Regions from separate parts of the Homo sapiens genome. Here regions 2, 3 and 4 are each linked to region 1. Evidence: promoter capture Hi-C in 16 types of primary human blood cells and fetal thymus (Javierre and others, 2016). All regions are on one chromosome and are shown on one strand. The core of a region is centred on a gene start or on the middle of the fragment in contact, and the rest is flanking DNA. Distances in the headings are between cores, read along the strand shown.

Region 1 (7,093 bases), core at 3,233-5,732:
ACCCGGGAGGCAGGGGTTTCAGTGTATAATAGAAGAAAATTACAGGCCAATTTCTAAACAAAATATAAGCACAACAAATACAACATTATATTTAAAAATATAATCACTATGATCCTTTGGAATATTTTCTAGGAATGCAAGTGATTCACTATCAGAAAAATCTGTAATTTACCACCTCAACAGATTAAAGCAGAAAATGATAAACACCTCAGTAAGACGAAGAACACCTCAGTAAGACAAAGAAAAATCAATTAAGTAAACTTCAAGATTTATTCATCATTAAAAAACAAATACAAATACATAAACAAAAACAAAACAAAATCCCAAAACTCTACATAGAAACAGACTTCCTTAACCCAAAAAGGGTATAACTGTAGCTAATACCATATTTTTTTTTTCATGTTCCATGAAATTTTATTTCACAAAGGCTTGGACTCTGAAGACCCACAGTTATGGATCATTAAATCCTGTAAGTAAATGTAAATCCAAAATAAAGAGTTTTAACAAAAACATAAGACGGAGATTTTTTGGTTTAAAAGAACAGAATTATTTGGGAGATAGCTAGAACTCTTCCCTGAGGATTCGTTTATAAAACATGCCTTAGAAGTTATTAGGAGATGGTGACTTAAAAAAAAATGTAGCAATTTTATCTAAATGACTGCAATATCACACCTTAATGATAAAAAGAAATGCATTCCCTTTATAATCATAAACAAGATAAGTATGCTTGCTGTCAACACTTCTAGTCAACATGGTGCTGGAAATCTGAGCAAAGAAAGAAAAAAGATATAAGGATTAGACAGGGAGGGTGGTGGGGGGCACGGTGGCTCTCGCCTGTAATCCCAGGACTTTGAGAGGCCGAGGCTCTCAAGGATCACTTGGCTAACATGGCAAAACCCCATCTCTAAAAAAAATATAAAAATTAGCCGGGCATGGTGGTGCACACCAGTAATCCCAGCTACTCGGGAGGCTGAGGCAGGAGAATCACTTGATTTCGGGAGGTGGAGGTTGCAGTGAGCAGAGATTGCGCCACTGCACTCCAGCCTGGGTGACAGAGCAAGACCCTTTCTCAAAAAAAAGGATTAGACAGGGAGAAACTAGACTGTCACCATTTGCAGATGATATGAATGGCTATGCAGCAAAGTCCCCAAAATCTGCAAAGTAAATTATTTAAATTAATAAGGTAATTTAGATACAAAATCATTAAGCATCATGTTTCTGTACATAAACAACAGTCAGAAAATAGTAAGATTTATAACAAAGTTATGGCTATAATTATCAAGACAGGTAGTATCAGCACAGGAATAGACAAATAGGTCAATGGGACTGAGAAAAGAGCCAAGAAATAAACGTATGCCTATATGTATAAGTAAACTTGATTTATGATGGCTCGCATTATATCAGTAGGGGAAAGGTCCTATAAATACATGAACCTGGGACAAGTGTTTGATATGAAAAAAAATGAAAACTGGTTTCCTGCCTCACACCATATACAAACCATCAATTCCTGGTAGAATAAAGGCTTAAATGTGAAAAGCAAAACTATAAACCTTTGAGAAGAAAATATAAGAGATTATGTCCATGACTTTAGGGTACAGAAGGGTTTCTTAGACAAGACCACAAGGCAGTCACAATAAACAAAAGGATCAAGACAAAATTTTATAGATAAAATTATAAACATCTGTTTATTAAGATACCTTTTATATTGAAGCTGCATGATTACACATGCAGACCCGTTATTCTATTCTGCCTAGCAGTGACAGAAACAAACCACAAATTGAGGTATTTGACACTTACGTAACTAAAAAAGGTTTAGCATACAAATATATGTAAAGAATATAAATAAGAAGCAATCTGTTAAGAAAAAAGGCCGGGCGTGGCAGCTCACGCCTGTAATCCCAACACTTCGGTAGGCCGAGGCTGATAGATCACCTGAGTTCATGGCAAAACCCTGTCTCTACCAAAAATACAAAAAATTATCTGGGTGTGGTGGTGGGCGCCTGTAATACCAGCTACTTGGGAGGCTGAGGCAGGAGAATCGTTTGAACTCAGGAGGCAGATGTTGCAGTGAGCTGAGATCTCGCCATTGCACTCCAGCCTGGGCAACAAGAGTGAAACTCCGTCTCAAAAACAAAGAAAGAAAAAAGAGGCCGGGTGCGGTGGCTCACGCCTGTAATCCCAGCACTTTGGGAGGCCGAGACGGGCGGATCACGAGGTCAGGAGATCGAGACCATCCTGGCTAACACGGTGAAACCCCGTCTCTACTAAAAATACAAAAATTAGCCGGGCGTGGTGGCGCGCGCCTGTAGTCCCAGCTACACGGGAGGCTGAGGCAGGAGAATGGCGTGAACCCAGGAGGCGGAGCTTGCAGTGAGTCGAGATCGCGCCACTGCACTCCAGCCCGGGCGACAGAGCGAAACTCCGCCTCAAAAAAAAAAAAAAAAAAAAAGAAAAAAGAAAGAGGTATTTCACAAAAAGTGAATATTTGAAAAGATGTTTTACTTCTTTAATCAGAGAAAAGCAAAATCACAATGAGGTGTCATTTCATTTCCCTGTAGGCAGCCAAAAATTAAAACCTAAGGCAAAATTAAGTTTCGGCAAGTTTGTGGAACAACAGAACTCCAATACACTGCTGGTAGAAGTGAAAATTGCTATAGAATTAGAAAATGCCGTTACACCTTGGCATTATATTGTAACAATGAAAAGACCTATAACATACTCCAGGAATTCTACTCCTTCCACTAATGCACAAATAAGGTACACAAGAATGTGTAGCACCCAATCCTAGTGTTTCTGGAATTACCCAAATGTCCTTTGAGAAGGGCACTGGAAAATGCATCATATGTTCACACAGTTGAATGAATAACTACAACCTCATGCGTCAATGTGACTCAATCACAAAACACAGCGTTATCTGAAAAAAAATCAACAATATGAAAACATTTCTATAAAGATTAAAAACACCATTGCACAGTTGTATCAGGAAGCAGCAAATAGAGACCTCCTTGGCAATAGAGACTATTTCTTAAATTGGAGTATAAGTTCATAGATGCTGGTTGTGCTTCATAGCTTACATGACTGCTACATAGCTTACATGTGTGCTACGTGTGTGTGTGTGTATACATATATATATATGGAATAATTCATAATTGTTTAAAACTAGTTAAAGGGGGATGTTGAATGAACCCTACAAAATTTTAACGTTATTACCTTGAGGTTTGGATAATGTAGGACTTTCACTTTCTGTATTATTCATTTCTGGACTATTTAAAACTTATACAATTAAGTAAAATGTTTGTATTTGGGTAAAATGATTGCACAAAGGAAAACAAATTGCATAGAAATCTGGCACCATTTGAGGGCAATAATTACTGTTTTCAACTTACATAACTTCTCCAGGTGTCATATATTAAAATTATGTTTTGCGGACCGGGCGCGGTGGCTCACGCCTGTAATCCCAGCACTTTGGGAGGCCGAGGCGAGCGGATCACAAGGTCAGGAGATCGAGACCATCCTGGCTAACACGGTGAAACCCCGTCTCTACTAAAAATACAAAAAATTAGTCAGGCACGGTGGCGGGCGCCTGTAGTCCCAGCTACTCAGGAGGCTGAGGCAGGAGAATGGCGTGAACCTGGGAGGCAGAGCTTGCAGTGAGCCGAGATTGCGCCACTGCACTCCAGCCTGAGGGACAGAGCGAGACTCCATCTCAAAATAAATAAACAAATAAATAAATAAATAAATAAAATTATGTTTTGCATAGTCTGGGCTGCTAACTGTATTATCTTGAGAAAAATTTCCAACAACAATGGGTTTAAAAATGTTGGTTTTACTGAAAGCATGAATGCTTTTTCTGTACTGACAATTCCTGGCTTCATCTAATTTACGTTATACTTATTTGCCTTTGGCTCACTTCTGCACTTTTCCCATTTTTAAAAGATAAACTGTAAACTGCCACAAATCCTTTTCTGCTGGAGCCTGGACCAGGAGCGCGGATTCCTGTAAATAATGATGTAAATAAATAAGTAAATCAATGACTCCCATTCCCAAAGGGCCTTCTTTTCCATTTTTCTCTGGGGCATCGAAGTGCGGTGTGCCCTGCGAGCTCCCACAGGAACAACCCGGAACGTTTGTGGTCCTGTTGGGCCACCGCGTGCTCGGTAGGAAGCGGACGTCCCGGGGGCTGAAAGGGCCTTAGCGATTTTCTCGCTCTAGTCCCACCCGAGACCCGGGGCGCTGCAGGAACCTGCCCAGGCCACCGGGTGGGCGGCTGGGCGGGAGAAGCTGGGCAGCCCCTGGCAACACCGAACGGCCAGGACACACGCGGCTTCCTCCGCGGGAGGCGCTTCTCTCTGCGCCTGGGCCTTCACGACCCCTCCCGCGACCGTGGCCCCGAGGCCAGGTGCTTACTTGCCGCTCTCCACGCCGTGGCCGAGACCCAGCTAAGCAACCAGGGAAGCCTCGATGGGGTCATGGCGCCGACTCCCCGAGCCTCCGCGCAGGCGCAAAGCAGTAGTGGGAGGAGCAGGGGGCATGATCCGGAGCCTCCCTGCAGAGGGCGGGGCCTCCGTGGCCGGCTTTAGAAAAGGAGTTAGAGGCATCCCTGGGCTCTTTGGCCAAGAGAGACCCAGGCTACCTTGAGCCCGGTGTTAAAACGCCAAATCGTGGCTGCAGTTAGAAGAGGGAATAATTCCGTTCCGTTCATGCTTGTCAGTCTGAGCCGAAATGGCCCGTGGAAGATCCCTTTTATAGTTTACAAAGATTGAGCACCTTTTACTCTCTCACTCATGTAAAATGCTTCTTTTACCTAATTCTCCCTGTTTTGTGTTTTAAATCTTTGTTCAGTCAGCTCCTAGTTCGTCCATTCTGACCGACTAACCAGATGATATGAAAGGCGACATTTTTGAATGAGGTGCAAAGCAAGAAAAGGCTCTCCATCCAGGCCAGGATCCAGTGCAATGAGCTCTGCCCCTTAACCCTTACATCCCACCAGCTCTGATAGCGTTGAGTGGATGTGGCAGACCTGGATGCTTTGTGCAACTCGTGGAAATATTTACAGAATCATAGTGAAGGCCCCCAGAATTCTGGAATTTTGTCTTTTCTTTTAAAGAAAAGTTTCTGGCTAGCTATTGCGCCTTGGTAGTGTCTGACCATGTGACATCAAGTGGTTATACGATCGAAGCTTCTTATCATGAACTGAGAATTATCTGGTTCTCCTAGATAAGGAGATCCTTTTACGAAGAGAAAGTGGGCCGGGCAAGGTGGCTCACTCCTGTAATCCGAACACTTTGGGAGGCCGAGGCGGGTAGATTACCTGAGGTCAGGAGTTCGAGACCAGCCTGGCCAACACTCTACTAAAAATACAAAAATTAGCCGGGCGAGGTGGCACATTCCTGTAATCCCAGCTACTTGGGAGGCTGAGGTAGAAGAATCGCTTGAACTCGGGAGGCGGAGATTGCAGTGAGCAGAGATCACGCCACTGCACGCCAGCCTTGGAGACAGAGCAAAACTCCATCTCAAAAACAGAAAAAGAAAAAAGAGAGAAAGTGGGATACACAGAACTGGGCCAAAGTCAAAACGGAAACAGTTTTCATTTGTAGGGAGCTCACAGTCCTAATATCATGCTTTTGACCTTTAGCTTATATCTACAGTTTAATAATGAATTCCTTGTGACTAGCTGACTGAGGAAAAAATTCAAAGTCGGATGATGGCTTTGCTCAATAAACTGGCCCAGCTGGCAACTGACTGCTTTTCATATTTAGAGCCCCACTTAACAGAGGCCCTGAAGGAACAGAACAGGGAAAAAAAATTATTTCCAGCATGCATAATTTAGCTTATTTATGTATTTTATGTTTTTACAGGCACATGTCACCACACCTGGCTGATTTTTCTATTTTTAGTAGAGACAGGGTTTCGCCATGTTGACCAGGCTGGTTTCAAACTCCTGGCCTCAAGGGATCCACCCCTCTCAGCTTCCCAAAGTGCTGGGATTACAGGTGTGAGCCACTGTGCCTGGCCAGAATTTAGCTTATCTTGTATGCTTTGCCTAAAAAGAGACATGGCTTGAGATAAAAATCGACATTTCATAGGCAGTGACTGGTTTGTCAAGTGGCTGGGAACTGGGAATGTAAAAGTTTTGGACTGGGTCTTTGGAATAGGACCTCTCAAAGTGGTCCCAAAGCATGAAAACATTTGGGTCCTATTGAACGTTAAAAAAAAAAAAAAAAAAAAGAGCTTCCATTGCAGAAGGGCTCTTAATCAGAACAAGATTATTAGTTATCTATTGCTGCCTCACAAATTATCCCAAAATTTATTGGCTTAAAGCAATAAACAGTTATTCTCTCACAGTTTTTGTGGATCAGTAACCTAGAAGCCAGAGTGACTGTGGTTCTGGGTCCTAAATGAGGTTGCAGCCAAGCTGTTGGCTGAAGTCCCAGTCTCGTATAAATGCACAACTAAGGGAAGATCTGCTTCCAAGCTCATTCACATGATTATTGGCAAGATTTGGTTCCTTGTGGACTTTGGACTGGAAACCTTCTCAGTTATTTGTTAAGTGGGCTTCTCCAAAGGCTATCTTGCAACATGGCAGCTGGCTTTCCACAGGACAAATGAACTAAGGAGCAAGAAAGACCACTCAAAATGGAAGCCCTGAACTTCTGTAATCTCATTTCGGTAGCGACATCCCACCACTTCCACTGTATCCTATTATTAGGTCCCGGCCACTCTCAAAAGGGGATTACACAAGGGCTGCAACAGTGACCCATTCTGTGGACATCAATTACTCAGCCTCCTTCCCCCACAACAGGTGTGGACTCAGTAACAAGGTAGCCACGGTGGCAAGAATGGAGACATACATGTACTTTTAACACCGTCTTTCTTCTGCCATGACTGATTGGCTACTACCACTACTCGCCAACTGCAGTGACCAACTTGATCCCATGATACACTTTTATGTGGTCTGGGTGGCAGGTCTGATTACAATGAAATCCTACTGTTATGAAGGAGGTTGCAATTTGTTCTTACAGGAAGAGACAATTATTCTGCATTTAGATTGTTTTCCCTGATTTATGCTTATTATATACTTCACCTGTGGACT
Region 2 (7,093 bases), core at 1,224-3,723, 120 kb before region 1:
CCCTGATGTGACTATTATGCTTTGTATGCCCATATCAAAATATCTCATGTACCCCATAAATATATCCACCTACTATTATATGTACCCATAAAAATTTTAAAAAATCAGTGAAGTAGAAAACCAAAAGGCAACAAAAAAGTCAATGAAAATAAAGACTGATTATTTGAAAAACATCAATAAAATAGGTAAATCTCTAGCATGGCTGATGAAGAAAGAGAGAAAATACAAACTACCAATATCAGCAATGATAGAAGAGACATTACTACAGATTCTACAGATACAATAAAGGAATATCATAAACAACTTTATGCTATAAGTGCACCAACTCCTTGAAAGACAGAAATGAGCTCTCTCCAGAAGGAAAAGATAACCTGAATGGCCTAATATCGATTAAATAAACTGAATCTGCTCAGCAAAAAACAAACAAAAACTCAAGGCCCAGATAGCTTTACTGGGGAAATCTACCAAACGATTAAGGAATAGTGTCAGTTCTATACAAACTCCTCCGGAAATTGAGGGGAAAAAAAAACAGTGGGGAAGGGGGGAAGGGGGAGGAGGAGAATACTATCTAATTCATTTGGTGAGCCTAAAATTATTCTGATACCAAACCAGACAAAGATATCACAAGAAATAAAACCTACAGTTCAACACCCTTCATGACAATATGTAAAATCATAGCAAATCAAATTCAAAAATATATATATATATATATATAAAAGATACATCAAGACCAAGTGTAGTTTCTCCCAGGAATGCAGTTTAATGTGTGAAAATCAATGTAGTTCAATATATTAAAGAACTTAAAAACCGGCCGGGTGGCCTGTAATCCCAGCACTTTGGGAGGCCAAGGCGGGCAAATCACCTGAGGTCAGGAGTTCAAGACCAGCCTGACCAACATGGAGAAACCCCATCTCTACTAAAAATACAAAATTAGCTGACCGTGGTGGTGCATGCTTGTAATCCCAGCTACTCAGGAGGCTGAGGCAGGAGAATCATTTGAACCCAGGAGGCGGAGGTTGCAGTGAGCCGAGATCGCACCACTGCACTCCAGCCTGGGCAACAAGAGCGAAAGTCCGTCTCAAAAAACAAAAAAAAAAGATTTTAAAAACTATATGATCATCTCAAAAGATGCAGAAAAGCATTTGATAAAATTCAACATACATTTCTGATGAAAATTCTCAGCAACCTAGCAACAAAGGAAATTTCCTCAACTTGATAAAAGGTATCTGTAAGACTTTTACATAAAAGATAAAGTCTGAACCCTTTCTCCCTTAGTATCAGGAACAAAACAAGCAAGTCCAGTTTCACCACTTCTATTTTTACTAAAGGTTCTAGTCAGTGCAATAAAATAAGAAAAAGGAAATAAAAGGTATTCAAATTGGAAAAAAGCAAAAATTGCCTTTATTCGAGGATGATAATTGTCTAGGTAGGAGACCTAATAGAATCCACGAAAAAAGCTATGAAAACAAATAAATGAGGTTAACTAAGTTGCAAGATGTCCTAAGTATGCAGCAACCTACGGTATTTCTATATACTAGTAATAATCAGAAATTAAAATTTTTAAAGTATCTTTTACAATAGCATTAAAAAATAAAACCTTATGGAAAAATCTAACAAAAAATAAGGAAGGCCCATACACTGAAAACTATAAAATACTGCCAAGCAAAATTAAGTAAGATCTAAATAATTGGAGAGATATATTTTGTTCAGATTGGAAGACTCTATATTAAAAGATGTCAATTCTCTCTCAAATGGATCTACAGACTCAAATGATTCCCCATTGAAATCTGAGATTATTTGTAGAAATTGACAAAGTGATTCTAAAATTCATATGAAAATTCAAGAAACCTAGAATAGGCATAACAACTTCGAAAAAAATAACAAAGTTGGAAGACTTACACTACCTTACTTACTTCCAGGCTTATTAAGAAGCTACAGTAATAAAGACTGTACAACATTGGCATAAAGGCAGACAAACAGATCAATGGAACATAATAAATTTCAGAAGTGCTCCCTCCTGGACATACATGGTCAATTAACTTTTTTAAAAAGGTGCAAAAGGAGAAAGACTAATCTTTTCAAGAAATGGTTCTCAGGCCGGGCACAGTGGCTCACACCTGCAATCCCAGCACTTTGGGATGCTGAGGCGGGTGGATCACCTGAGGTCGGGAGTTCAAGACCAGCCCTGCCAACATAGTGAAACCCCATCTCTACTAAAACTACAAAAATTAGCCAGGCGTGGTGGCGCACACCTGTAATCCCAGCTACTTAGGAGGCTGAGGCATGACATGAGAATCACTTGAAGCAGATTGGGACGTAGGGTATGCAGTGAGCCCAGATCGCACCACTGCATTCCAGCCTGGGTGACAGAGTAAGACTCTGTCTAAATGTTCTCAAAGGATCAAATATCCATATGCAAAAAAAAAAAACTTTGATCCATACCTTGTATCATATATAAAATGCAACTCAAAATGGATCATGGACTTAAATATAAAACATAACACTGTAAAACTTTTAGGAAACAATATATGAGAAAATCTTCAGGATCTAGGGTTAGGCAAATTGTACTTAGACTTGCTAAAAATACAGTCCATAAAAAAAATTAATAAATTGAACCTCTTCAAAACTAACTTTTCTTCTATGCAAGACCATGTGAAGAGGATGTAAAGTTAAGCTACAAAGTAGGAAAAAGTATTTGCACATATCTGACAAACGACTAGTATCTAGAATATATAAAGCACTTTCAAAACTCAACAGTAAAAAACAAAATCTATTTAGAAAATGAAACATGAACAGACATTTCACTGAAGAGGACATACAGATGGAAAACTGGCACATGAAAAGATGTTCAACACCATAAACCACTAGGAGAATCCAAATTGAAGCCAATATCACTGTTACAACACATCTAACATAATTACTAAAATAAAAAACAGTCACAACACCAAATGCTGGCAAAGGACCAACTAAATAGCTCACATCATTAGTAGATGTATAAAATGGTACAACCACTTTTGAAAAGTTTGGCACTTTTTTTATGGATCTAAGCATGCAATCACCATACAACCCAGCAAACTGCACTACTGGGCACTTATCAGAGAAATAAAAACCTACATCCACACAAAAATCTATACAAAAATGTTAACAGCAGCTTTATTTTTAATACTAAAAAACTACAAACAGTCCAGAGGTCCTTCAACAGATGAATGGTTAAACAAACTATGGCACAAACATATCACAAAATTCTATTTAATAAAAAGAAAAGAACTATTAACAGACGCAAAAACTTGGATGTGTCTTGAAAGAATTACACTGAGTAAGGCCGATCCCAGAAGGTTACATATTGCATGATTCTATTTTTATAACATTTTTGAAATGGCAAAATTTTGGAAGTGAAAAACAGATTCATGGATGCTATGGGTTAGGAATGGATGGGTGGGGTGGGACAGAGAAAAGTATGTGTGGTTTTAAGAGGGCAACACAAGAGATTCTTGTGGTATATAACTGTTCCATATCTTGACTGTGGTGGCAGATATATGAATCTTCACTTTTGATAAAATTGAATAAAAATACATGCACACACACACACAAATTACTGTACAAGCAAAACTGCAGAAGTCACAGTAAGATTGGTGGGTTGTATCAACATCAGTATCTTGGTTGTGACATTTGTCTATAATTTTACAAGATGTTACCATTAGGAGAAACTGGGTCAAGTGTCTATGTATTTTTTTAATCATCCAACATATATTCAACTGTGATTCACACATTATAGTTTCTCTATGTATGTTTTGATTCATAGCTTTCCTTCCATCCCAAACATGCACCAAAAGAGTAAAGAAGCTATTATCTCAACTAAATGGCGGCAAAAAAATGACCATTATTCTTAACCTAACTTTACTCTTCAAAACAGAGAAGCAAAATACTAGAAATACTCAATGCCCTACATTGAGAAAAATGTACTATAATCATTCAGCAATAAATATATAAGTTGCAGCAAATTACATGGTACAATAAAATCTTAATAACCTAAAATCCTACTAAATATATTTCCCTTGGTTAATTGGAATTGTTTTTTGAGAAACTGCTGTAATGTGAAAAGAATACATGGCAAAGAAATTCATCACAAATTTAAGAAAATGATTACTTCATGAAAATGATAATCCTCATTTTTTAAAATTTAAAAATTAAAACAGCACTGTCAAACTGTACTTTCCATGATGCTGGAAACATTCTATAATCTGCATTATCCAATACATTAGCTCCTAGCCACAGTGGCTATTAAGCCTAGAAATGAGGCTACTGGAATTAAGAAAGTGAATGTTTAAATTCGGTTAAATAGCCTTATGGCTAGTGACTTCCACACTGGACAGGACAAACCTAGAACTTACAGAAAAACTTAAAAAAAACACAGAGAGACAGCCACAATGTAAAAATCATCATCATCAGTATATTAGGTCAATATTTCTCAAACAGGGCACTACTGGCATTTTGGGCAGAATAATTCATTGTGCAGAACTGTCCCAAAGAGAATGTTCCTTTCAAATGATAAGGGTATTTTTTCCCAAGTTTAGTTTTATGACAACTTTTGAAATTACAGAGTATTATTACATTCAAAGAAATTACTAAAGCTGTTAAATTCACAGCAATAACGCATTTTCACCAGCAGAGGGCAGATATATGTTATAAAACCACCACTTCGTATATACTGTATTCAAATATTTAAGAAGCCCAATTGTACTGAAAAGACACTATTATATTCATTTATACAAAAAGAATTGTACTTCTGTAAGATAAGAAAGCAAATGTGCTAAAAAAGAAATGTGTGTTTTTTCAAAAATACACTGACAAGTCTCCCAGAAACCAATTTTTGTCAACTGTATCAGTTTATTCAAGAGTTAACTATAATTCCTCAAACAAAACAAAGTAACCCTGACAAAAGTTCCATTAAGCCTTATTTCAAGGGCCATTTACACCCATATTAATAACATTCCTTCCGCTGCGAAACAAATTCCAAACAATTTTCTTCACAGACCACATAAGTTGTCAGAATCCCAAGAGAAAATATGTATTTGTTTCAAAAGTAAACTAAACACAGAAAACAAAACAAGCAATGAAATGTGGCAAAGGTGTTAAAAATGGTAAAGGACTGCCTAAGAAAAGCATAAAAATACTAAAGATTCACTTTCTTAAATCTTACTGCACTGCATAGCAGGTAAAAAAAACAGACTCTGAGGCAATTTGGATTCAGCTTCACCACAGAAATTTTCATAAGAGCTTAGAAAATAGTTTTAATGTCTACCAAAAAAATACAAAAATCAAATGGCGTTTTCTAGTTCCTCTGATGGTGGCATACATCTGTAGTCCCAGCTACCTGGGAGGCTGAGGTAAGATCATTTGAGCCCAGGTGTTTGAGGCTGCAGTGAGCCATTGTGGTGCCACTACACTCCAGCCTGGGTGACAGAGTGAGGTTCTGTGTTAAAAAAATAAAATAAAATAATAAAAAAATTAAAAAAACCTCTTCTCCCAAGGCTTCTCTGTTCTGGTTTTCCTTACAGTCTTCCTTCACAAAGAATGGGACGATTCTACTTCATCCCATTGCCTCTCTACAAAATCTTCATCATTGACCCTCTGGTTAGACAAGTGTTGAATGGAGTAATATGGCTTTAGGAAACACTTCTATGCCGATAACTCCCAAATCAACAATTGTCCCTTTGTCTATTTTCTCCCTGACATTTCTGCCCAGTACTTACACCTGTCTTCAGAAAGGTACGTACAAAGCATGTCCACTAAGTATATGCACAAACCTGTTTACCTGGTTATTCCTACATGAAATAACTTTGCCATTCTCCTTTAAGTTTGATTTCACTCTTCCTCAAGAACTACCTCTTTTATTAAAAACCTTCCCCAGCCCCCATTCTTGGTGATTTTTACTTTCTCTGAATTTATTTAACATCTAAAGCTTGCATTACACTTTCCAGAATACACTCTGTGTTTATGGCCTGCCTCTTTAAAGTAAAGGCTCCTCAGGGCAAGGTAGGGTAGGGTTTCTGCTGTGTATCTCTCACTAATGTCTACTCTAGTGAATCAGCAGATAAAAAGTTAAAAAAAAAAAAAAGTATTAACTACTTTATTTTCCTGAGGCTTCCATCAAGTATTTTTGCACTGGTCTAGTCTCAGAATCTCTTCAATTACATTTTTTACCAAACAAAATATAATTCACAAATGCTTCCTGCAAAGTAATAAAGTGAATGAGTGCTCAAAAAAAAAAACTAAGACCTGGCATAATTACCAAACACCTACTCATTTATCAAACCCTTACTTTGTGCCAGACATTACTTCACAAGCTCAGTTAATCCTCACAACCCTGTGACACAGGTATTACCATTCTACATGTAATGACACTGGAGCTCATAAAGTTTAAATACCACACCCCCACCACGAAGAAGGAAGGAGGGAGTGAAAGGAAAGAAAGAAATCAGAGTCAGCAGTGGGAGAGCTGAGCCTTCAAAACAGAGCAGTGAGCTTTCAAAGCCCATGTTTTCCCTATCCTAGTGTGCCTCTAAAAGAGAAGAGAAGAGCAGTGACTACTAACCCACAGACAACTGGAGGAAGAATATTACAGAGGAAATATTACCATATAACTACTTTTTTTTACTTTATCACATAAACTTGGGTAGAAGGAATAAAAATGTAAACAAGTTCAAAATATCATAAGGACACTGAAAAACTTAGAAAGTTCTTTAAGGAACTAATAAAATCTACACATACAGCATTCACTCCCCTGAAATTTTTTAAATGTTAGTTTACTTTGGCAAAGAAGTTGAACTTTGGTGATCATTTAAGGATTTGGTGGTCATTAGAATGTTATAAAATAAAAGGAGAAATGAAAATGAAGCTTAATTTTTAAGAATCCATAATCCTTGCTTCACCTGATGGTCTTAAAGTTTATCCCTTGCCAAATCTATAATTTCTTTCTTTGCCCAGGTGACTTAGGATCCTTAAAAAAATCAGCTTAAAATTTCAAAAGTCTGATCAAGCACAGTAAAGCCCTCTTTATTTTGTTCACCCCTTCACCAATGCTCTAGTGCTT
Region 3 (7,093 bases), core at 2,924-5,423, 110 kb before region 1:
GCATGAGACCCTGTCTCTATAACAAGGAAAAAATAAATAAATAAAATAAACTTTAGTGATGAGACAAAAATTCCAATTTGTTTAAACTGGTATTTTGAAGTTATGGTGGTTCTGCTATTAAATGCAAGGAGGGAAACTAAAATGAAGATATTGTCCACATTTGAACACATTTGGCAATAATCTGAGAAAAACCTTAAGTTAGCCGAAGGTGACAGTCTTCCCAACAACAATCTCTTACATCACAAATTTCTACAACAAAAACAGGTGTTTTATCTATCATACCATCAAACATAGTTAACAGCACAGACTATATCTCCCGGGCTCAAATCCTGACTCTACAGTTCAGATTCCCACCCCTATCTCATCTCAATAAAATCACAATTTCCCCAGGTTATAAAAGCCTCTAATGTTCATCCTTGCTCCTCCAGACTGTACCCTTATTAGCAGGCTAGGTTATAGAGCCAGCACAGATATACTGAGGCTCCAACATGTCCTGTATAATATACTGGAAGAAAATATATATTACCAATTATGCTTTGAGTTCCCCAAGACCACCCTCATGTTCAGTAATTTGCTAAGAAGATTCAAAAGATTCAATATACAGTTGTACTCATCGTTATGATTTATTATAGCAAAAAGATACTAAGCACAATCAGCAAAGGAGAAAGGCACAAAAAGTCCAGGGGAAATTAGGAGCAAGCGTCCGGGTGCTCCCTTCCAGTTGAGTTGCAATGAACACACTTAATTCTCCCAGCAGTGAGCTGTGACCACACATGTAAAATGATGCCAACCAGGGATGCTCATCAGAGACTCAGTGCCAAAGGTTATTAGGGAGACTGGTCATGTAGGTAACCCTGGCTGGCACATATGCCAATTCCAGAATCCCAGAAGAAAAGCAGATATTCAACATAAACCATATTTATTATACAAACAACTTAGGCACAATGACAGACTCATCACTTAGGGTGGTGGGACCATCCCCAAGATTCCCCTCAGATGTCAGCCAACCACCGCAAGGCCTGCTTTGTTAACTCTTTTCTCCACACCAATGACTAACAGATCCTTTTGAGCATGAACCTTATCTACCTATCCCCTGCTAATCCCCAGGTCCTAAGAAAGTGCCAGTCACTCCCCTCCAAGTTGTTTTTTTCTTTTTTTTTTTTTTTTGAGATGGAGTCTCGCTCTGTTGCCCAGGCTATAGTGCAATGGCACGATCTTGGCTCACTGTAAGCTCCGCATTCCGGTTTCAAGTGATTCTCCTGTCTCAGCCTCCCCAGTAGCTGGGATTACAGGAGTGCACCACCACACCCAACTAATTTTTGTATTTTTAATAGAGATGGGGTTTCACTATGTTGGGCAGGCTGGTCTCAAACGCCTGACCTCAGGTGATCCACCCACCTCGGCCTCCCAACATGCTGGGATTACAGGTGTACACCACTGCTCCAGGCCTCCTAAAATTTTTTTAATGAAAAAATTTCTGGCTCCACTACTTTAAGTTCTGTGTACCTGGGTAATAATATTACCTACCTCAAAGGTTGTTTTGAAGATTATATGAGTTAGTATATGTAAAGTGTGAAGTACATCATCTCTGGTAAAAAAAAAAAAAAAAAAAAAAAAAACACTATATAATTTGTGAGTATATATGTAATGTTATTATTTGCTTTTTTTTTTTTTTTAACATTCTCCAGGTCACAATGGAGCTACCCTATCTCTAAACTTCTAATGAATCTACCAATGTAAACATAGATTAGAAGTTAACTGGTAATTGTTTCATGTCTACTGAGATCTCTAACTAGCTTGTAGACAACTATATCCAAAACTTTTTGTTTTTGTTTTTTTGAGATGGAGTCCCACTCTGTCGCCCAGGCTGGATGGAGTGCAGTGGCGCCATCTCGGCTCACTGCAACCTCCGCCTCCAGGGTTCAAGCAATTCTCCTGCCTCAGTCTCCCGAGTAGCTGGGACTACAGGCATGTGCCACTGCACCTGGCTAATTTTAGTATTTTTAGTGGAGACAGGGTTTTGCCATGTTGGCCAGGGGTGGCCTCAAACTCCTGGCCTCAGATGATCCACCTGCCTCAGCCTCCCAAAGTGCTGAAATTACAGGCATGAACCACTGCACCCGGCATCCAAAACTTTTTTAACACACACAGTAGTATCTAACGTAGTACTTAATCTTTTTAGTGCCCAGAAAATATTGATTTATCAACAAAATTAAATGTCTGTTAAATCAACTCTTTACAGTGGTAAGAATGTAAGGCGGTCAACTCTTCTGATAATAACTACAAAATGGCCTCCAAGTTTCTTTGATCTTCTTTCATTGAGAAAATTGAGAAACTGAACTAAAATGGCTTAATTCTAATCCGTGAAAAGACGATTAGTAGAAGCGTTTGAAATAAGCAAAAGGGGCTGGGTGTGGTGGCTCACACCTGTAATCACAGCACTTTGGGAGACTGAGGGAGGCAGATCACTCGAACCCAGGAGTTCAAGACTAGCCTGGGCAACATGACGAAACGTGGTCTCTACAAAAAATACAAAAATTAGGTAGGCATGGTCGCACACATCTGTAGCCCCAGCTACTTGAGAGGCTGAGGTGGGAGGATTGCTTGAACCAAGGAGGGAGAGGTTGCAGAGAGCCTACATCGCACTCCAGCCCAGCGACAGAGTGAGACCCTGTACCAAAAAGAAAAAAAAAGAAAAAAAAAATGCCAAAGCACTTTTTTGAGTTTATAAAGTATATCGTTTTAAACATTCTACTTTGCCTTAAAGAGAGCATGGATTCAAGTCTGTTATAGGTTAATAAAGGTGGAGAAAGATATATATATATATCTTGTACAGCAACAATTTAGGAGATGTAAGCCTCCTTAATTAATGAAGTCAAGTACTGAAAGTTTTATCTTAAACAAACAAACAAACAAACAAAAAAGACAAAGAAGAACTGTGAAGAACAAAAGGAGGGGAGACAACATGCAGCCCAAGTTTTAAACTGATGAGTCAGAGACCAATGATTTCCATCTCAGCTCTGATACCAGGGCTCTGCCCAATCAGGAAAAACCTCGAGATCAGCAGAATTACAAGAACAACAGACCCATCAGACTGAAGTTTCACATTTTGAGGAAACTTTTAGATTGGCAAATTTCTTTAGGTGAATTATAATCAGACTTTCACTTATATAAATTTGTCCTATAAGCATCAACATCATAATAAACACCAGTTCCCCAAGGTGAACTTTACTTTTTAGTAAATATTACTACACTTTAAAAGTAACAACTCTAAAATATCAAAGACTTAATGAAAAACATGAACTCTTGGATTGGCTCTTGCAATCAAATGGGCTCTACACGTTTCTACTTTTTGAAAAAGTTAGAAAGCTAAAAGACTCCCTTGAAGGCAAGGTATTGGACATAATTAGGATCTGCCAATTATCTGCACATGGAAAGCACAAGTGGGACAGAGGCCACATTCCTACAGAAAGGGCAACTAACAAAAAACGTCTACAGACACTAAGTGGTTGCAGCTCCATAGGCCTTATGCCCCCATCAGCATACCAGTCTCCTGGGTGAGAAGCAGTTATGACAGTGGGGCAGCGGTAGCAGTGGTGGTATGTGTGGCCTTGAAAGCAGTTCAGCAGTGGCTCCCTGACTTTCCCTCCTCCAGCCCTTCCAATGACTTGGTAAGTACCTGATTCCTGAAAATAGCTACAGTGGATCTCTTTCCTGCTCTATACCCTGACTTATATATTGACATTGTGTGAATTTAGGTCCTCTTGCCCTCTTCTTGGACCACTGTTCAACATCTCCTAACTCAGGATTTGCCTGCAATCCTCACTATCCCAGTTCTTCCTCTGACCTGAGACTACCAAAACTGATCATGCTTAAAGAAAGCTTATCTAGTAAGGGCCGTATGGAAACTTCTTCTGTTCTTTCATACTGGTACATGTGTGTGTGCAGCTGTGTCCTTTAATTCCTTCTCTATCTGATGAAATCCCACTCCACCTTCAGAACCTAGCTCAAATGAAGACTCCTTCTGTGACTGGTCCCAACAGGGTCACTCCACATGCCACTCCCTTTCACAGGTGCACTCCCTTTCACACACCCTGCTGCCTGCCAGGGGCTCTGTGCTCATTCATTCACACATTCATTCATTCAAAAAATATTTGCTAAGTTACATTTGCCTACCACATGTCCTGAAAACTGGGGATACTACCCTAACCAAGATAAACAAGGTCTCCTCTCTTACAGCTATAATCCAGCAGGGATACAGTGTACCCCATAATTACCTAAATAATGTTTAATTACAATTGTGATAAGTGCAATAAAAGATTCAGGGTGTTGTCTTTTATGTATAAACGGAAGCCTAACCTAATCTCAGAGGATCAAGGAGAATTATTTCCCTTGAAAAGACATTTAAGCAGGAATTGAAAGATGAGCAAAAGCTGAGCAGGCAAAAACTTGTTAGAAAGCTTCCCAGGCAGAAGAACAGCACGTGCAAAGGTCTTGAAACAGCATTCTAGGAACTGTAAAGACCACCAATGGGCAAAAGTCAAGGTGCAAGGGGAACAACAGCCCAAAATAAGTATAGAGGTAGTTATTTCTTAAAACCATTATTACAAGCACTTAGCACATCGTTTTAGAATCATTTATTTGCAAAAACACAACCCACACTAAACAAACTCCTTTAGGTCTTACAAATTTTTTTAGCTCTCTTACCTAATACAATATCTAACAGTGTGTCTTCAAGTCAAGATCTGCGGAACAAAGAAACGAGTGTTTGATCTCAGCAATGAGCTTACCCTCTCAATATCAGACAGGCTAAACAAAACAATCTCTAGAGTTAAAAAACCTTATGTTTCTGACTACCCAAAATTGAATGGGCAAGAGACTCACTTTCATACCAATTTAAACATGCTCAAAATCAAACCTAGCAAAAGATGGAAACAGACCAAATGTTCATCAATAGACGGATAAATTGTGGTCTATCCATACAATGGAATATTATTCAGCCATAAAAGGAGTGAGGTACCGACACATGCTACAAAATGAATGAACTTTGAAAACATATGAAGTCAAAGTCAGAAACAAAAGTTCATATGTTGTATTATATTAAATATCCAGAACAGCCAAACCTACAGAGATAGAACATGCAATAGTGTCTGCCAAGGGCTGGGGAGAGGGGATAGTGGGAAGAAACCGCTCAATGTGAATTTTATCTATATGTTTTGTTTTTGTTTTTGTTTTTCCCTGAGACGGAGTCTTGTTCTGTCACCCAGGCTGGAGTACAGTGGCGCGATCTCGGCTCACTGCAACCTCCGCCTCTCCGCCTCCCAGGTTCAAGCAATTCTCTTGCCTCCGCCTCCCACGTAGGGATTACAGGTGCCTGCCACCATGCCTGGCTAATGGTTTTTGTATTTTTAGTGGAGACGGGGTTTCACTATGTTGGCCAGGCTGGTCTTGAATGCACTTTTAAAATCTCAGAAATATACATTAACAAGCATGGGACATGTCAATGTGGTACCTGCCAAGCCCAGCGATGTTTTCTAGGAGCCCTACTCAGCCAAGTTCAGGCTACTCCTGATGTCCAACACAAGATGCCCTATTCAGAGCATGTGAAAGAATAGAGAAGTGAAAAAAAAAAACAAAAATCAAAGCTAGAATTACCTGTAGATAACACTTTAAATACTGAAAACTAAACTTGAAGCTGGCAAGGCATTCCCAGTCCTCACTGCTCCCTAAAGTGCCACCAACTAATAACCAACAAGAGCTGCTTTAAACTCCCACTGAGTCATGAATGCAGCTAGGAGAGAGGAGGAGTAGTTCCATCTGCCTGTTCTTAAATTCTCCAGTTGTTCAACAGATTTGGTAAGAGCAGGATCAAGAGCAGGAAACTGGCGCCTATGCCATCCTTTTCTCCTTCGTTGCTTCCTAAATACTGTCAATCCAGGAAACACAGCTGGTGATTCAGTAAGAAAATGTCAAAACCCAATTGACATACCTCTACCAACTATGATAAGGCAAGATAATACAGGCACCTCAAATCCTAAGCTTTAGTTTTGGTACATATTCTCAAAGATCAGTGGAAGAAGCTTCTTTGAAAGAAAGAAAATTGAGTTAACTAGGAAATAACTTTGAAATACAGTACATGAAAAGTTTGATGCAATTTACTAGACAGTGAAGAAAACATCAATACATACACAGAATGAAACTTCTTAGTAACTGAGCTGTAGAGTAAGACCTTTAACATATCTTTTAAAAGTACTATATTTATTATGTCATCCTAGCATATAGATCCAAAATCATGTAACAAGCCAAGAATTCTACTAAAAAAGCCTCCATAATGTACTTCAACCTTACCAAATACTCAAAAACTGTGAAAATATATTTACATCAATTGCTCTATCATGTCGAATTTTTCAATTATTACAACCATGAAATCAAGTCTAATTAAATCAATAAGTGGCCTTACCTGTGATTTTTTGCCTGAAAGATCAAGATAAAACAATGAAATTATTTACAAGATCATTTTAATATTCTTCTAGATTTAGTAGCAACAAGAAAAAAATAATCCTTGTAAATTATACTGTGGAGTTCATGCCCTTCAAGCTGCACCCTTGTACTCTTGATACCATTCTCTTCTCTCCCACTTCCTTCACTTCTCAAAACAAGTAAACCAACAAAAGGCCAGACAAAACCAAAATACAAAAGACATTCATTCAATATATATCTACTGATTTCCGTGGCAATACAAACACTGAGCAAAACGAATACTTCCTATTCTTCAGGTCCAAAGAAGTAAAACTTTTGATCCTAATTTAAGAAGTACATGATTCTCTTCTCCCCACCTCAAAAGAGTAAATAAAAAAAAAAAAAGTTAACATGGTTAATAATGGCTTTTAAAAATCTGTATTATTTTAGAAAGCATTAGTGAAAATCTGATTTTATAAAGTACTTTTTTGGAGACAGAAATTTGAACAAAAATTAAATTATTTTTAATAAAGTCTGTAGATGAAGGAAGGTTAATTCTGAAACTGTTACTATTCGACTTTTAATGAACAGATTTAATATTTACCAGCATCTCTACTTAACCATGTTATTACTC
Region 4 (7,093 bases), core at 2,333-4,832, 84 kb before region 1:
AAGGCAGGTGGATTGCTTGAGTCCAGGAGTTTGAGACCAGCCTGGCCAATATGGCAAAACCCCATCTCTACTAAAAATACAAAAAATTAGCCGGGTATGGTGGCGTGCACCTATAGTCCCAGCTACTCAGGAGGCTGAGGTAGGAGAATCACCTGAGCCCAGGAAGTCGAGGCTGCAGTGAACCAAGATCGCATCACTGCACTCCAGCGTGGGCAACTGAAGTGAGACCCTGTCTTCAAAAAAAAAAAAAAAAAAAAAGCTGTCAGGCAGACAGTTGGATATCTGAGTCTGGAGCTCAGAGAAGAGGTCTGGGCTGGAAGTATACATTAGTGATTGAAAGTATAAACATGGCTGGGCACGGTGGCTCACACCTGTAATCCTAGTACTTTGGGAGGCCAAGGCGGGCAGATCACCTGAGGTCAGGGGTTCAAGACCAGCCTGGCCAACATGGAGAAACCCTGTCTCTACTAAAAATATAAAAATTAGCCGGGCATGGTGACACGGGCTTGTAATACCAGCTACTCGGGAGGGTGAGGAAGGAGAATCGCTTGAACCTGGGAGGCGGAGGTTGCAGTGAGCCAAGATCACACCATTGCACTCCAGCCTGGGGGACAAGAGCAAGACTTCTTCTCAAAAACAAAAAAAAAGGAAAGAAAGTATAACATGGTAATACATACATATATTTTTTTGAGATGGAGTCTCACTCTGTTACCAGGCCAGGCTGGAGTACAGTGGCGCAATCTTGGCTCCCTACAACCTCCGGCTCCCAGGTTCAAGTGATTTTCCTGCCTTACCCTCCCGAGTAGCTGGGACTATAGGCATGTGCCACCACACCTGGCTAATTTTTGTATTTTTAGTAGAGACGGGGTTTCACTATGTTGCCCAGGATGGTCTCGATCTCTTGACCTCGTGATCTGCCATCCTTGGCCTCCCAAAGTGCTGGGATTACAGGCGTGAGCTACAGCACCTGGCCTAAACATGGTAATATATTATCACACTAAAGAAGCTATGGAAGTAGAATAAATCACATGAGAAGGAATAACTGAGTAAAAACAGAAGATGGCCTTGGATTGAGCTTTGAGGAGCATCAATATTTATTATTAATATAAGCCAAGCATGATGAACCTGCACAGGTGTCTGAAAAGGAGCCCTCAGAGAGACAGGTGAAAATCTTTCATATTAAAATTTGTATCATTTATTTACTATTACATAACAAACCACTTAGTAGCTTAAAACTACAACTTAGGCCAGGCTTGGGAGGTAAGCAGAGATCAACCTTAGTAGCTTAAAACAATGACTATTTTACTGCTCAGAATTCCATAGGTCAACAATTATGGCTGGTCTTAGCTAGAAATTCGGTTGTCTCACCTGAAGTCACTTATGTGATTTTAATTTTCTGGTGACTCAACTGGGCTGGCTGGTTCCTGATGGCCTCCAAGCCTGGATGATTGGAATGACTGGCACAGCCAGGCCCCTCTCTTCATTTTGTTTTCTCTCTCCCCAAGGAGACTAGCCTAAGCTTGCTCACACAGCAAAAGCACCATTACAAAAGACAAGGCCAGGCTCAGTAGCTCATGCCTGTAATCCCAGCACTTTGGGAGGCTGAGGCAGGTGGATCACCTGAGGTCGGGGGTTTGAGACCAACATGGAGAAACCCCACCTCCACTAAAAATACAAAATTAGCTGGGCATGATGGCACATGCCTGTAATCCTAGCAATTCAGGAGGCTGAGGCAGGAGAATCACTTGAACCTGGAAGGCAGAGGTTGCAGTGAGCCGAGATCACACCTCCATTGCACTCAAGCCTGGGCAACAAGAGCAAAACTCCATCTGAAAAAAAAAAAAAAAAGACAAAGCCCAATGCACTAAAGGTCATATTGGCTAATATCCTATTGACCAAAGCAAGTCACATGTCCAAGCTCAGAGTAAACTTGGGAGGCAATGATATAAAAGCAGGGAGCATGGGACAAGTGATTCCTTGGGAGTCATGAAAAGTAAGAAACCACCATGGCAATTATGAATCTACAATGATTTGTTTCCCATCAAGTCTAATCTAAATTACTTTTCACCATGGAATACTACTCAGTGTTCTATCAAGCTAGTTCTTTCCTTATGCTTCATTCTTGCTGTGACCTCTACTTGAGATTCCTTCTCCATGTCCCAGCCTTCTCCATCTGGTGAATTTTACCCATTTTTTAAAGCTCACCTCATCTTCCACATTTTTGTTCATTTTACTTTGTCATCCTAGAACACCACCCCCTACTCTGCTCCCCAGTCCTAAGGCTATGCCAACATCTGACCGATTCTAATCTCAACTTCCCCATGAAGACTTCTGAAATGGCTCCAGCCTTCATGGATCTGCCTTGTCTATATAATGATCTAATAATTATACCAAACAATTTTGAACTTAATTATGTGTACTTTGTACTTTATGTAATTATGTATATTTTGTATTGTTGGCTTTAAATATACCTCTTTTCTACTAATGGATTGCAAATGTCTTGATGAAAAAAACTGTGTCCAATACTTCTTTAACATAATGGCATATAAAGATGAACAGTGTTCTCAAGAATGTTACTGTCCAACAGGGGAGACCTGCCCCACCCCCAAGTAAACAGGTGATTTTAATAGAGTACAGGTGCTATTTCAAGCATAAGTGCAGGATGCTGTGGGAAAACGGTGAACAGGTTCTAAATTTGTTGCTGTTGCTAGTATCTTTGGAGTTTTTTGGTTTGTTTTTATTTCTTAGTGGGGCAGGATGTGGTCAGGGAAGCTGATCTCTAACCTGAAAGTCCAATGATGGGTTAGCCAAAGGAGGGCGGGGCATGGAGAAGGAGTTTCAGTCTGAGGTTTTACTAAGAATGTAGGTAAAGAGGAAAGAGATATCTCGGTTCTTTAAAAACTGCAAGTACAGGACTTAAAAGCTGGGGAATAGTGAGAGAAGAGCAGTAGTGAGATTGGATGCTAAGGGCTTCAACCCTGGAAACTCCGTCCATGTTTGATATGGTCCGAATTGTCTCTGCAAGACTCATGTTGAAACCTAATCCCCATTGAAGTGATATAGAGTTGGGCCCTTGGGACAGTAATTAAGTCACGAGGGCTCCACCCTTATCAATAGGATAAGGGTAGTAATAAAATTGGCCTAAGGGAGCAGAGAGCCTCTTCGACCATATGAGGACACAGAGAAGGCACCATCTTTGAGGAACAGGCCCTTACTGGACACCGAATCAGCTGATGCCTTGATCTTAGACTTTCCAGCTTCCAGAACTATGAGAAATAAATTTTTATTGTTTATAAATTACCCAGTATAAGGTATTTTTGTTACAGCAGCCCAAATGGAGTAAGACAATGCTTTTTTGTGTTATTCATGATGCTATTTTGGAGGTAAGTATTGGCCCAGTGTCAGTAGGGCATTGAAGGAACCTCCTAATCCAAGGTCGGGATACATGAGAGGGGGTCCTCGTGGTCACGTTTTCTCAACTGCCAGACTCCTGTGCTTTATCCTGTCATTTCTGTACAATACTGAAGGAAAGGCCTGCAGAAAGACTTTAGCTCTAGCCTGTACCTTGAAAAATTAATGAAGACCTCTGTGAAAACAAGAGGTCAGGGTTACTGCTATCTCTTGCCTCAACGTGTAAGATTGTGTGAAATCATGTAGTTGGGTAACAATGATTGCAATAGGCCCAATCTCAGAGAGTGATAAAAAAAAATCCTGGGCCTTGTTCCTACACAGTAGCCACACTATAACACTGTGGTTGGTGAAAAGTAATTTTATAAGCAAGTCACCAAACAAATACTTCTCTCTATGTGATTTTTAAATAAAAATAGCTACGATCCCCAATCAACGTACAATACTAATTAGTCCCTTCTCAAATCTTATAAATGGTTAGTCAACCTCATTTTAGAAAAGGCCAGCTGTTTTGCAAAAAACTCATGAGAAGAAAAAGACAAAAATAAGTTTACTCCACCAAGCTGATTTAATGTGGGCTCCCAGGGAGATGGCAAGCATTTCAGTGATGTATCTAACACAGAATTTTCTTTAGACATTTCTGAAGCTCTAATAAGCCAGATCCTGCTGTGGAAGTAAATTAATCCCAAATACAAGTTAGGCATTTCGCAAAGTGCATTAACTCTTTCAAGTCTCCTGATCACAAAATATCCTGGAATGCCCATTAATAGTGAGATCGAATTGAATAGAGGGCAAGTGAAACATCCCTAGTTACAGTGGTCATTTGGGAAAATCTAAATGTGCTCCCAAACGACCTACTGTGTTTACATTTGAATCATTTGGAGGTGAAAGAAAATAGTTTATTTATCTGTCAGGGATCCTCATTCTGTTTCCAGTCTGAGTTCTCTCTTTCTATTAGTAATTTAGCAAATTATACAATAGCTGAACATTTACCTTGCCTCCCCGCTAAGAAATTATCAGGCATTTTCAACACTGAGGCCATATAACAAAAAATAAATTCATAAAGGTAATTTCCTGTGAGGTTAGCTTTAGTATTTTTTCACCTTTCATGTTCTAATAATAATTTTGTTTATATACAATGGTCGTAGTAACTAAGACTCAAATGGGTCAGTGACTCATCTATGTGTGTTTGTAAAAAAAAAGGGAAAGAGGCAGAAAAGTTGAATATGATTAAGGTTCATTTAATTTCAGTAATATTTCAACTAGAAAGGCGTTCAGTTAGGAATCTGTATGTAGTTATATAAAATCACAAAAAAAGGGCCGGGCGCGGTGGTTCATGCCTGTAATCCCAGCACTTTGGGAGGCTGTGGCGGGTGGATCACCTGAGGTCAGGAGTTTGAGACCAGCCTGGCCAACATGGTGAAACCTCATCTCTACTGAAAATATAAAAATTAGCCGGGCATAGTGGTGCACGCCTGTAATCCCAGCTACTTGGAGGCTGAGGCAGGAGAATTGCTTGAACCTGGGAGGCGGAGGTTGCAGTGGCCAAGATCGCACCACTGCACTCCAGCCTGGGTGACAGAGCGAGACTCTGTCTGAAAAATAAAATAAAATAAAATCACAAAAAAGAAACAACCTAAATGTTCAATAATAGGTAAGAGGAAAAATCACGTATGACAGAGCCCCATAATGGACTATTGTATAAATATTAAAGTGATATTTATGAAGAATTTATATGTCATGTAACTATATGATTACAATTACATTCTAATTAACTGGCAGAGTAAACCTCTGGAAGAAAACATATCAAAATGGTAACAGTAGTAGACTTTGAGAGAAGAACCTTTAATATTTTTCTCTACATAACAAAAATTTCAAAGTTTCAACAAAAAGAATATGGCCAGTTTTATAAATGGAAAAATTCTACTTTTAAAAAAAACACAAAAATCCATCTTAAAAATTTATATTTTACTAAAACCAAACTTAGTGACTGTAGTACCTATAGTGCTTTTACAGTTTACGTGGCACTTTTACATTTGTTCTCTACTGTCTATTGTAATTGAGACCTTAGCACACTACTTATTTCATATCATGTGAAGCTAATTGTATTCCACTTTTCACAACATGATATTAAATCTGGCAAATGTTTTAGTAGACATAGGATAATTCCCAAATGTAATTTTCTTTATGATTGCTCATAAAATACACATTATAGATGTAGTAATAAAAAAGCTTATGGAAATCATTATATTGAAGTATTTTAAAACCCTCAAAGTGCTACATTCCCTCCTCACTGATTCCTCACATAACATTTTAAACCTTTAAAACTCTCCCTCAGGCCAACACACAGAATTCCCCCACTCTCCCACTTGCTCGCCTCCAACTTTCCAGAAAAGGAAAAAAATAAGCTGAGTATATCAGGGCTGGACTCCCTCAACATCCCATCCTCACACTCGGGTTCAACTACATAATTTGCAGGGCTCAATGGAAAATGAAAATTCAGGGCCCCTTGTTTGAAAGAGCAAGAGAAACTGCAGTTGAAAGTAATAAAATACTCCATCTCAAAAAAAAAGTAATAAAATATGAAAATTTTTTTCCCTTAAAAATATTTCATTACATACAAAATAATATTTTGGGTGTCAATTTTATATAATATAATGAATAACAATATTTTATTTTATTTTTTTCTTTCTTTCTTTTTTTTTTTTTGAGACGGGGTCTCGCTCTGTCGCCCAGCTGGAGTGCAGTGGCGCGATCTCGGCTCACTGCAAGCTCCGCCTCCCCAGTCCACGCCCTTCTCCTGCCTCAGCCTCCCGAGTAGCTGGAACTACAGGCGCCTGCCACCACGCCCGGCTAATTTTTTTGTATTTTTAGTAGAGATGGGGTTTCACCATGTTAGCCAGGATGGTCTTGATCTCCTGACCTCATGATCCGCCCGCCTCGGCCTCCCAAAGTGCTGGGATTACAAGCATGAGCCACCGCGCCCGGCCTAACAATATTTTATTAATGTGACATTTTAATCACATGATTTTTCTGGTTCACTTTTCTCCAAATTTATTAGATTGTCAAAGTTTTCATTTTTAGCAATTTCATTTTCAATGCATATAATTGAAAGCAATGTCAATTATTTTTAAATGAAAGATGGCAAGTAATTTTTGATAATTCTTAATTCTGAGAAGAATGTGTTGATGCAATTGTTACTGGTGCTGTTAAGTTAATGTTTTTAAGCTACAACAACATTGAGATACATATCTGATAAATTTTGAAATATAAATTTTAGTACATCTAGAGCTGATGATTCTCAGGGAACAATTTTTCCAAAAAGATTTAACACTTCACATACATCAGTTTTGTGTTAAGTATGATTTTTATTTTAAAAGTAAATTTCTACAATGATAACTTAATGGATATTTGCTTGGCAGTGTTGCAGTAGTTAAAAACCAGAGATTCTGAACTCTGAAAGATTCTAATAAGTCAATGATATGCTTAATTGCAATGCTCATGTCTAACACTTCTATTTTACAACAATTTATTTACAAAGTTTGCCTCTTGAGCCCCAAAATTTCCTCTCCCAGGGTTCATGCTGGAAAGTTAATATTTGTGCAGATGCCACAGAGTTGGGATCCTGGGACAGATATAAAGTGGCCTCCCTCTGCAGATCCTGGGGCTGCCTCATGCTGAGCCC

Evidence for each region. Contacts are between HindIII fragments. The CHiCAGO score rates a contact against its expected background, and 5 or more counts as called.
Region 2: a contact is called between a fragment that was not itself captured here and the fragment with the promoter of SDHAF4 in region 1, in 9 of 17 cell types (total CD4 T cells, activated CD4 T cells, non-activated CD4 T cells and 6 more). The highest score is 11.9, in total CD4 T cells.
Region 3: a contact is called between a fragment that was not itself captured here and the fragment with the promoter of SDHAF4 in region 1, in 13 of 17 cell types (activated CD4 T cells, fetal thymus, non-activated CD4 T cells and 10 more). The highest score is 18.3, in activated CD4 T cells.
Region 4: a contact is called between a fragment that was not itself captured here and the fragment with the promoter of SDHAF4 in region 1, in 4 of 17 cell types (naive CD4 T cells, activated CD4 T cells, non-activated CD4 T cells and 1 more). The highest score is 6.3, in naive CD4 T cells.

Annotation. Positions count from the first base shown.
Region 1 is chr6:70,564,319-70,571,411 of GRCh38, reverse strand. SDHAF4 (succinate dehydrogenase complex assembly factor 4) reads right to left here and starts at 4,482. Exons shown (of 3, transcript NM_145267.3): 1 at 4,408-4,482. The coding sequence starts at 4,471. RefSeq lists a silencer at 4,135-4,194. The HindIII fragment of the contact is 5,796 bases long and covers 1-5,181 here.
Region 2 is chr6:70,684,311-70,691,403 of GRCh38, reverse strand. The region is part of intron 1 of SMAP1 (small ArfGAP 1); the gene reads right to left. Among named protein-coding and RNA genes, the nearest start is that of SMAP1, 20 kb to the right of the region's middle. The HindIII fragment of the contact is 6,982 bases long and covers 1-5,964 here.
Region 3 is chr6:70,669,725-70,676,817 of GRCh38, reverse strand. All of the region lies in intron 1 of SMAP1 (small ArfGAP 1), which reads right to left. Among named protein-coding and RNA genes, the nearest start is that of SMAP1, 5.4 kb to the right of the region's middle. The HindIII fragment of the contact is 578 bases long and covers 3,885-4,462 here.
Region 4 is chr6:70,647,205-70,654,297 of GRCh38, reverse strand. No RefSeq gene overlaps it. Among named protein-coding and RNA genes, the nearest start is that of SMAP1, 17 kb to the left of the region's middle. The HindIII fragment of the contact is 4,121 bases long and covers 1,522-5,642 here.